2 separate regions of the Homo sapiens genome follow, and region 1 is linked to region 2. The links are contacts of gene promoters, found by promoter capture Hi-C in blood cells and fetal thymus (Javierre and others, 2016). All regions are on one chromosome and are shown on one strand. The core of a region is centred on a gene start or on the middle of the fragment in contact, and the rest is flanking DNA. Distances in the headings are between cores, read along the strand shown.

Region 1 (5,147 bases), core at 1,602-4,101, 900 kb after region 2:
GAGTTGAGCAGCCTTTCTGCTGATTATCACACATCATGAGCTGAGTGACTGTGGCTTGCCAAATCATTGTGTTTCTGGGTCTGACCAGTTAGCTTAGTTCTTCTCCTGCCTAATTTTGAACTAGTAAAGTGAAGTGAGTCATCAGATTATAAGTTACTGTTTAAAAGAAAAATGTTGTGTATTGATGCTGAGCTGATTCAGTTCCTTCCTTCTTACAGAAGTGTTAATTCACCCCCACACCAGAAATGCAGCATCTTTGTGGGTATGTCTTTTTCACAAGCCTCCAAGGCTCCTTAGATCAGGTCGTTACTAAAAGTACATTAAAACACTCAAGTTTTAAAAATGAAATATTTCTGTAATCGAAGTGTATTAATGTATTCTAAAGCTAGTAAACTTCCCTAACGTTTAATTGCCCTATAGATGCTTCTCTAGCTGTGGGTTTTCTTCTGTTACTGGTCTGAAATAATGATTTTCCTAGTCTATTAATATACAGTGTATTTTGCACAAAAAATTAACCTGGCCAATAGTGATTACCAAAATATATATTAATAATCTTGGAACTTTTGACATTAATTACCAAACATTTTAGACTACATGTTCTACATTATTATTCTTCACTTGAAAGAAACTCAGCTACTGCAAATTTTGTCTTTCTTTCTTTCTGTAAATGTTATTAAAATATCCAGTGAGCTCTTTTAGAAGGGCTCGGTATTATTTCAAGACTATTTTTGAGGTAGTTCTAGCCTTTTAAAATATTCTACACACCTGTGGGGTTCAAAAGAACCCTAGTACCAACTAAGCAAATAGGCAAAAGACATGTTGGAAATGTAGTATAGTACTTGAACCATTCACTATCATAGGGATTATTGGTGCATCCTGGGTAATGGAAGTGGAGCTTGACACCTGGTGCTTTTAACCAGGGATAAAGTCATCCTCTCACTGTAAGTACAGTATACCTGTACCTCCAAAAGTGACATTTTAGTGAACAGGCCATTTTCAACACTTGTGCCTTGGGGTGTTCATTGAAGCTTTATGAAAACTACTGATGTTTTCTCAATCTCCTTAAAGTTATGTCCATGCTTTAAAATGTCTCTGTAAGAGAGAAGTGGGTTTTATATTTATAATGTTTTTAAATTCTCTAAGATATATTTGCTGCTTTCCAGACTTTGAAACTATTAAGCTTCTTAACTGCCTCTTATTGAAATACTTCTGGGGAAACTTCATGGACTCACAGTGTCATTGCCATACAGCTTCACTAGAGTTCTCTGAACCACAGCTGAAAGAGCTTTGTATTATTTTTTAATTCCCTCCCCAGACATCATATAGAACTATTATAATAAAGGTGGTGGGCAAAAAACAATGTAAGGAGCCTTTCCAGTTATCTTAAGTTGCAGCTAACTCTGTAGTTTCTTTTTTGAGGCCAAACACACTGTATTTTACATTGTCAAAATATAGTTTACATTAATCACTATGTTAATGAGTATGTAAAACATTATTTTGCATTGATGAATTTTGTATCTGCCTCCATCAAAAGCATAACAGCCATAAAATAATAATAATCAAATCAAAATGTTTCAACTAATTTTCATGATTCCCGAGAATATGGCTTCATCCTACAATTTGTAAGCTAAGCACTATCAAAATACAAGAGAAATTCCCCAGCTTTACAAGATTCAGTAAGATATCTCAAAAGTAGGCCATATCTAGTATATTAGTCTGATTTCAGGCTGCTGATAAAGACATACCCGAGACTGGGTAATTTATACAGGAAAAAGGGTTTAATGGACTTACAGTTCTATGTGGCTGAGGAAGCCTCACAATCATGGCTGAAGGCAAGGAGGAGCAAGTCATGTCTTACATGGATGGCAGCAAGGAAAGAGAGAGCTTGTGTAGGGAAACTCCCATTTTTAAAACCATCAGATCCCATGAGACTCATTCACTATCATGAGAACAGCACAGGAAAGACCTGTCCCCATAATTCAATCACCTCTCACCAGGCTCCTCCCATGACACATGGGGATTGTGGGAGTTACAATTCAAGATGTGATTTGGGTAGGGACACAGCCAAACCATATCAGTTATCTTTGTATTTATAGCACAATTATTTGCTCACAGAATTAATGAATGTACACCATAATTCTGCATGGGTCAATAACTCCACTACACTGATTACTCAGTTAATTGATGTTTCTAAAATGTACATTTTTTTCTAGATTTTACAGTAATATATTTTAAGGACTTTCTTTTTAAACTGATTTCAATATATGGATATTTTCCTTCATTAAAAATTTGCTCAGCAGCAGCCAGTCTGACTTGGGATATTTATCTTGAAATTGATCCAATGAATATTCTCAATTTCAATAACTACTCTGGCAAGAAAAAGCATACAGAATTTCCTAAATCAATACAGTAGATCAGTGTCTGCAGCACAGCACAATTCGTACAGGCAATGCAGTGTTGTACCAAGTGTTTCCATTTCTCAATGCTAATCACTTTTGATTTGAAGATAAGCTGTCAAATGCCATTAATCTGTTTACCATATTCCACCCCCCCCAACCACAGAAGGCTTTATTTTCTCTTTTTCAAATAATTTCAGGAAACTTTTGTAGAGCAGGATGACTTCTTAAATAAGCAACTTTTAAATAGGTTTTAAATAGGTCATCATGAGTTAAGAGTAATAAAGAACAAATACCAAATTCATGAAGGGATTCTCTAAAGTTCTCTGTCCACTTTACTTTTTATCACTTTTCCAGTAAGATTCAGATTTCCCAATTCCTACTTTTAGGCTTAAATGTGCTTGAGAAGTCTCTATTTTTCTAAATTCCATCACCATTAAATGTTTTGATTCCCACTGCTACCACCCTATTTCAAATCCAGGCTTGAACTAGGAAGCTCTGAGACCAACTATGGAACCTGGGTAATTTCTCATATTCTCAAAGTTCCTTCACTTACAAAATGAAAACATTAAGATCTACGTATCAGGATCATGGTGAGTATAAATGAGTATGCATGAGAGAGCCTGGCACAGGGCCTGGCATCAAGCAGGTGCTAATCACCTCTAAGAAACTTTCCTCTTTTCTCTCTCCCTCCTCAGTCCTCCTTTCAGACTTCACAGCAAGACTCATTCTGAAAGGTGAATGTGATCTCCTTAGCCTCCTACTCAAATTCCTCCAAAAGTTCACCGTACCCTAGGACAGTGGTTCTCAAAGTGTAGTCCCCAGGCCAGCAGCACCTCTTGCGCTTGCCTTTCCAAAATTCCTCTAAGGAGAGTTTACTATCTTCCAAACCTGCCAACTCTCCCAACCCCAAGATTTAACTCATCTTTTACATCCTTCCCCCTCTATGATATCTCTCCTATACTACCCAGCTTAAAATCTTTCCTGACCATCCCAGTCTCTAGGACTTTTTCTGACCTCTAATTCCAATTATTTCTGAATACAAAGAGTCTTCATCTTACAATCGGGTCTGTGTCTGGATAAACCCACTGTAAAGTCAAAAAATCTTTAACTGAACCATTGTGTAAGTGTAGGACTGTACTAAGGTGAAAATCTGCAGAGGTCACAAACTAGTTGCACCTGGCCCACCCACAGAAGGTGTGTGTTAACTAAATTGGTTGCAAGTAACATTAAAAATCAAGAAAAAATACGTAAAAATACAGATCTTTGGCCTGTGTTGGAGAAAATCGGATCTGCGTTTGAGAGACCCCCATTCCCACATGGCAACAATCAGCTAAATGGTAAATGTTTCGAGCATTCACCAGCTCTTTCCATTCTAAATAAAGGTTTTCTTTTGACATCTTCAAATATCTCAAATGGTGATTTACATTTCTTATGGATATGTAACTTTTCATGCTTGTTTTGTCTCTCCTAATAGAATACAGCCCTTAAAAAACCTGTCCTTGTCTTTGACTTTTTAAAAACCTCTTGTTACCCTGAACACAAACCGGTATTTAGTGCAAAATTATTGTAAAAGAATATTCTGAACATTGTAGACAACAGCAAAATGCTGAATAATCCACACAGTTTTTCTGGAAACTTTTGGCTTTCTACCAAGTTGGAAAAGTTTTATTAGTTTATGTTTTCTAAACATATGGATTAGGGTACAACTCTTAAGACAGATAATAAAAAATTTTTATATTATTTTGGTTTAGGTCGTCTTTCATTTTCTAATGAGAAATACATATGAAGACAGCATGCCCTCTGCTGAAAGAGATTTAGACCCTGCCCGGCACGCCATGTGACGGAACCTAGATACTGTTTGTAACTTTTAGTTTGAATCCAACTTTTATATCCTGGATTTGATTTCCCAGAAAAGAGTTTCAATTTCACTCTTTGGTAGGAGTCATAGTGGCTTTCTCTGACGCGGCCTCAGGTTAACCATTTACCGGGTTTGGCAGCGACAAGGGAAGAGCCACCTTAACAAAGCTGCCTTGCTGTGGCTCAGAGATAACCTGAGAAACCTAACCAAGATGAGAATTTTAAAACACTGTTTACGTACAGGGCCTTTCTTTGTTAAAGCTTCCATTTGAACCCATTTGCCGACTCCTGCCTGTCCACACATATCCGCACCCCGAACATCAATATTAGGAGAATATTCGATAATACTCTCCTTTTCCTTCCCCCACCCCAAATCCTCCAGGGGGCGCCCCGGAGGACCGCGCTGGCCCCCCGGCGGGAGGGCGGCCGTAGGCGGGAGCCCAGTCCCGACTCCTGGACGCCGCGCGCACTCCCCATACTCACCCGCCCGAAGCCACGGAAGTGCCACCTGACCCCGCCCCTTCCGCCGGATCCTCCCACGCAGGCGCAGCGCCGACTGCAGGCGCGTGGGGCCCGGGGATCGCCTGGGGCTGGGTGGCGGTGCGGGGCATGGCCAGGGTCCCCGTGGACGTGGCCGCGCAGTTCCGGCGTGTGGCGGAGAGCGAGTGAGCGTGAAGGTCTCCCGGCCTGCAGCAGGCTGCGGAAGCTCTGCGCCGGGAAGTTCTCTGGCGGGGGAGGGGAGGGCGGTTTACGGCCTTTGGGGTAGGTTTTGCCCTTTTTAAGATCCACATGAAATCTTTCGCCTCCGAAGTTCGAGGGTAACTTTCGTTCCCTCCTGGCCTTCGCGACACCCTCGAGTCGGACGGAGGCCGAGTCGTGTCCTCACCCCCA
Region 2 (4,789 bases), core at 971-3,470:
AATCCAATGACAAGTGTCTTTATAAAAGATACACAGAAAAGGAGGTGCAACGTGAAGATGGATGCAGAAACTAGAATAATGTGGCCACTAGAAAGAAATACAGAGGGGAATGTGATGTGAAAACAGTGGCAGAGATTGGAACACTCTAGCTACAAGCCAAGGAAGGCACCACCAGAAACTAGAAAAGGCAAGGAAGGACTCTCCCCTAGAGCCTTCAGCGGGAGTATGGCTCTGCCAAAATCTTGATTTTGGACTTCTGTCCTCCAGAACTGTGAGATAATAAATTTCTGTTGTTTGAAGGCATCCAAGTTCGAGTATTTGTTTCAGCATCCACAGCAAACAAATACAGGCCTTAAGAGAATATAATTCATGGTACATTATATTCTTTTCCTTTAAGTACCATTAAAAACAGAACAAAAAAATCTCTGAGTTAGATTCTGCTCTACACAGATCAAAGAGGTATTAGTAAATAATTTGTGAATAGCTGTACAGTTAAAACAGCTCAATTTCTGTAAACTTAATGTTTAATGATGTTTTAATACAAAACTATCCCTTCAATGACTGAGACGTATGACTCTTTAACCTACTAAGAAATTACTATAAGAAAATAATTATGTTGTAAACTATCTTTCATTTATCTTCACTTATCTTCTGACTGCCTGACAACTAACATCAAATTTTATATTTCATGTACCTGTCTCTTTTCAGAGTAAACTGCTTAATGTCATCTATGTCTCCCTGTTAAGTTCTTTTTATCTTGAAATTAATTTTTTTTCATGTTGCCTGATGTATAATTAGATGACACTTGGTACTGTGTAACCTACAACTGGGAGCACAACTCTTAAAGTGGCTTAGTTTCTGGAAGTCTTGCCATCAAGATAAAGCTAAATTAAATAGAGGAAATGACACGACGAGTGTCTTTCCAGCTTTGAATAAATTCAGAATTAAAGTCTGTCATCACGAAACAATCTCTTCCAAACCTTAAGTTCTATTTTTAACCATTTAAGTGGCAGATGCCAGGTTATTTCAAAATATCACATACTATTTTCTTTCTTTCTTCATTTGGATGAATGATACAGTGGAGTTCATGCTCTTGCAGGGTCTACCGGTAGGAAGTCCATTCATGAAACCATCAATGTCACTGGTTGCCACAAGACATTTCAAGGAAGAAACTGGCAGATAGAACTAGCACTCGTGGCAATGGAAGGTAGGACTCCCCAACCTCTCAGACTCAATCCCCCACCACTTCCGCGTTGGAATCCGCGACCCTCTTCCCAGAGTTTTCCTGTGGCTTGGGTAGGTCAGCCCTGGGGGCGAGCCAGAGCGGGCACCCGCGCGCCCAGGGGCTTGCCAGCGCAGACCCCACTCCGCCCGCGAGTAGCTTAGTTGGTGGGGAGACTTCAGCTGTCACTCTCGGCCCGCAAAGGCAGATCTGCCCCGATCCCTGCAGCCCTCCCCAGTCCCGGAGACAGGTGTGGGCCGCAGAGGGAAGGGGATCCGGACCAAATGCCCACCCGCAGGCGAGCGACCTGGCGAGGTCGGGCCCACCTTCCTTGGGTTGTAGCGGACGCCGGCAAGCAGGGGTCCAGCGAACGTGGGCATCTGCCCGGCGCCGGATTTTCAACCCACCGCCAGAGATAAGGCTCCCCGCCCACCAGCGAGCCACTTTCCCGCGCGGACACCTCTAACTCCGGCAGCTCAGGCTGGGAACTCGGAGATCCAGAGTGGCCTCCCCTCCCCCCCGCGCATACGTCAGCGCTAGCGTCGTGGAAGCGCCGTAATGTCCCGAAGAAGCGCGTCTCCAAACTTGCACCCCGCTGCCGCAGCTTCAACGGAGAAATCCCTTGCCCCAAGCACACGTCAGCCCTGCCCGCGGAGTCATGGCACAGCAAAAGAGAGGCTCTCCATGGAGATATGCTCCAGAAGGGTGGGTGGCTGTGCCTAAAGGTTTGTTAGAAAAGGACAGTCAGTGAGGCTTGCTGGCTGTGGCGCCTTACGACGCTCTCCCCGACCCCTCGTCATTCAGAAGGTTCCGCAGGTCTCGACAGCGGTGCGCTTGTCAGCCCCATCCGGCGGCCAGCCTCCCTTGCCGGATCGCCCACGTTGTCGGCCTGGTCCGAGTTCTTCATTTCAAAGCATCTGCACCTGCGAGCCCGCGGCCAGAGGCGCTGGGGGCGTTTGTGCGCGTGTATTCTGAGGCGCGTGGTAGTGATGGCGGCGCTCAGTGAGACTTTCCTGTCACTGGCTACTACTACTCCCAACCCTCCTCAAAGCCGCCGGAGCAACCCCCAGGTCTTTACTTTACAATCGGCAATTTGACTTGCTCTGCTGCATGTCTGGAGGGACCAAGGAAAGTGTGGAGACGCTCCAAGGATTAGGTGATCGGAGCTTGAAAAGAAAAAAAGCCAAACAAATAAACAAAACCCACCCACCCTAACAAATATGAGGCTGCTGGAGAGAATGAGGAAAGACTGGTTCATGGTCGGAATAGTGCTGGCGATCGCTGGAGCTAAACTGGAGCCGTCCATAGGGGTGAATGGGGGTAAGTGCTGCACCTCTGCCGGCTCCACCGCGGCTCCCACTTCAGAACTAATTTGTGAGTCTTGGAAAGGTGGGGCAACCCTCATTGCAAGCGCTTGCCAATTTCAGGGGGCACTGACCAGCCTTTGGCCCTTTTGCTGATTTTCTAATTTACCAACCCCAGAGGGAACTTGTAATTAGGAACGAGGCAAAGGAATTTGAGGGCAGGTAGCCTTTTCCGTAGACAAACAATGACTATCCTGAGTGTCAAGAAGTGAGGTTACAGAGAATGAAACTTACTCCTCTTGCCTTCAAAGTAGCATCCTATCCCAAGGGAATCTAGGTTGCTAAGAGTTCCGTATCTATCTTGGAGTGGACCTCATTATCGAGTCTACTTTCGAGTCCTCCCCGCCCCCACATTAAAAAAAAAAGTGGAGGAAAAACAAGAAAAGGGACACCTCCGCCCCCAACTCAGATTTTATGGCCCACATGTTGGAGAGTGATGATTTGCTGTAGTTGCTGGTGCTCCAGAAACTCCCAAGCCGACTGACACGTTGCACTCTTTGATTACAGGACACTTCATTACAGCATACTTCCGTGTGCTGCCGGGATTCAGTTGCTATACTAGCAGTCTAACAGATACAGACTGTTAGACTATGTGTAGTGTAGTGTAGTGTGTGTTTTGGCAAGGAAATGTGGATGGACTGAAAGCATACTTAGATCTCTGAATAGTGGGAGCTTTGTACAGGAGATGATGGGCACTGGTGGGAACATTAGAAATATTAGTTTTTTATGCCCCCCCCAACACCTTTAGACAATCTTGTACTACTTTTCATAAACATTAATTGAATTTATTCAATTCGCTTGTCTTTTTGACCTTGTTTGTCAGTTTCCAAGCTTATTGACAGGTTTAATACCTAACTCATGCAACCGGAGCAAATAAGGATAGAGGTGAACAGGCACAATATTTCATAGTAGGAAGCGCTCAGGAGGATATTTGAAGTTATTTTTATCTTTTTGTTAAAACATGATGGAAGTGAATGAAATGATCTCTTAGGAGAACAGCAGTGGTCCCTTCTCCCCTTAACCTCCACCCCATTACTCTGTTTAGAAGTAGCTTCCGGGAACATTTTAAAAGGAATTATTTAAACCAAAATTGTGGAGATGAAGGATTGTTTGTTTTAAAATTTTGTTCTTCTGTATTCAACTTAGAACAAAATGTGTAGAATATGTAACTGTGAGAATAAAGCAGTTATTCCTGGTGGTTTCTCCCTCTGATTGATGGTAATAGTTTCTTCTTTAACACTGCTGCTCTGTGAACTTTTGGGAAACTCTTGTGAAGATCAGGTCTGTCAAATGAAGACCCCCTATCCCCGGAGCTAAATGAATAGTAAGACTTAGAGTACCTTTGCATGATCTGCAATGCACACTTCACTAGCTATCGCTTCTCGTGTTAGATCTCTTATTTGCTCAGTTTTGAGATGAAATTACAGAGGATGTATGATCTTTAACTTTAAATCTGCAGGGGCTAAGTTTGGCAAAATATCTTTTACCTTGCATTCCTAAATATTCTGTGGGAAGAAAGGTGTTGAATGCTGAATCATTTCCGTGGGGCTTTTCTGCAGTGGCATGTATGAGATAGATTCTGCAAACTTATGTGTTCCATAGACTCTGCTTATTAATATTTTGGTACATTATTGTATCATAGAAATGCCATTTCCCATTTCCACTAGTCCTTCTGTCTTTAATGTAGGATAATTCATTCCTTTGTTTAATTATAATAGAATGTTAAGAGGGGGAGGGGAATATTTAAAGTGTTTTAAGCCAACATGCTTCTTTTACAGTTGAAGATACCAGGTGACTCTCTCTAGGTTAAGGTAGCTAGCTTAGGGAAGAGGAACTATTGGAGACCAGGGTATTTAAAATTCCTGGGAAACTTCTACTTCCCAAGCAAGCCAGATTCCTTGACTTTAAAATCTGCTCCTGAATCACCTTGCTTAGCTGCTGAAGAAATATTACCTGTGTGAGCTGCTGAGACAGATTCACTAACAAATATAAAGATAATGTACCTCTTATAAAAGTTTTTGAGCAGCCTTCACTGCCCCCAAATGCAATGCCTTTTGCACTTGCCTTCTCCCTTTCTTTCCCTTTTCTTAGATCTCAGCAAAATGATTTGTGTAAATGCCAGGCATATTAAATAATTTATTACAGCATTTGAGGAAATCTTTGTTTCTTTTATTCATTGTTGTACTACAAATGCCTAAGACAT

What was found. The method cuts DNA at HindIII sites, captures the fragments that hold promoters and counts their contacts. A CHiCAGO score of 5 or more calls a contact.
Region 1: a contact is called between a fragment that was not itself captured here and the fragment with the promoter of SLC10A7 in region 2, in 1 of 17 cell types (fetal thymus). The highest score is 5.8, in fetal thymus.

Annotation. Positions count from the first base shown.
Region 1 is chr4:145,619,000-145,624,146 of GRCh38, reverse strand. MMAA (metabolism of cobalamin associated A) reads right to left here and starts at 4,762. Exons shown (of 7, transcript NM_172250.3): 1 at 4,740-4,762. It also overlaps the pseudogene NCOA4P3. RefSeq lists silencers at 4,394-4,463, 4,494-4,933. The HindIII fragment of the contact is 3,337 bases long and covers 1,183-4,519 here.
Region 2 is chr4:146,519,371-146,524,159 of GRCh38, reverse strand. SLC10A7 (solute carrier family 10 member 7) reads left to right here and starts at 2,220. Exons shown (of 12, transcript NM_001029998.6): 1 at 2,220-2,542. The coding sequence starts at 2,443. RefSeq lists enhancers at 1,373-1,452, 1,623-2,042, 2,053-2,132, 2,353-2,422, 2,863-3,092. The HindIII fragment of the contact is 7,940 bases long and covers 1-3,419 here.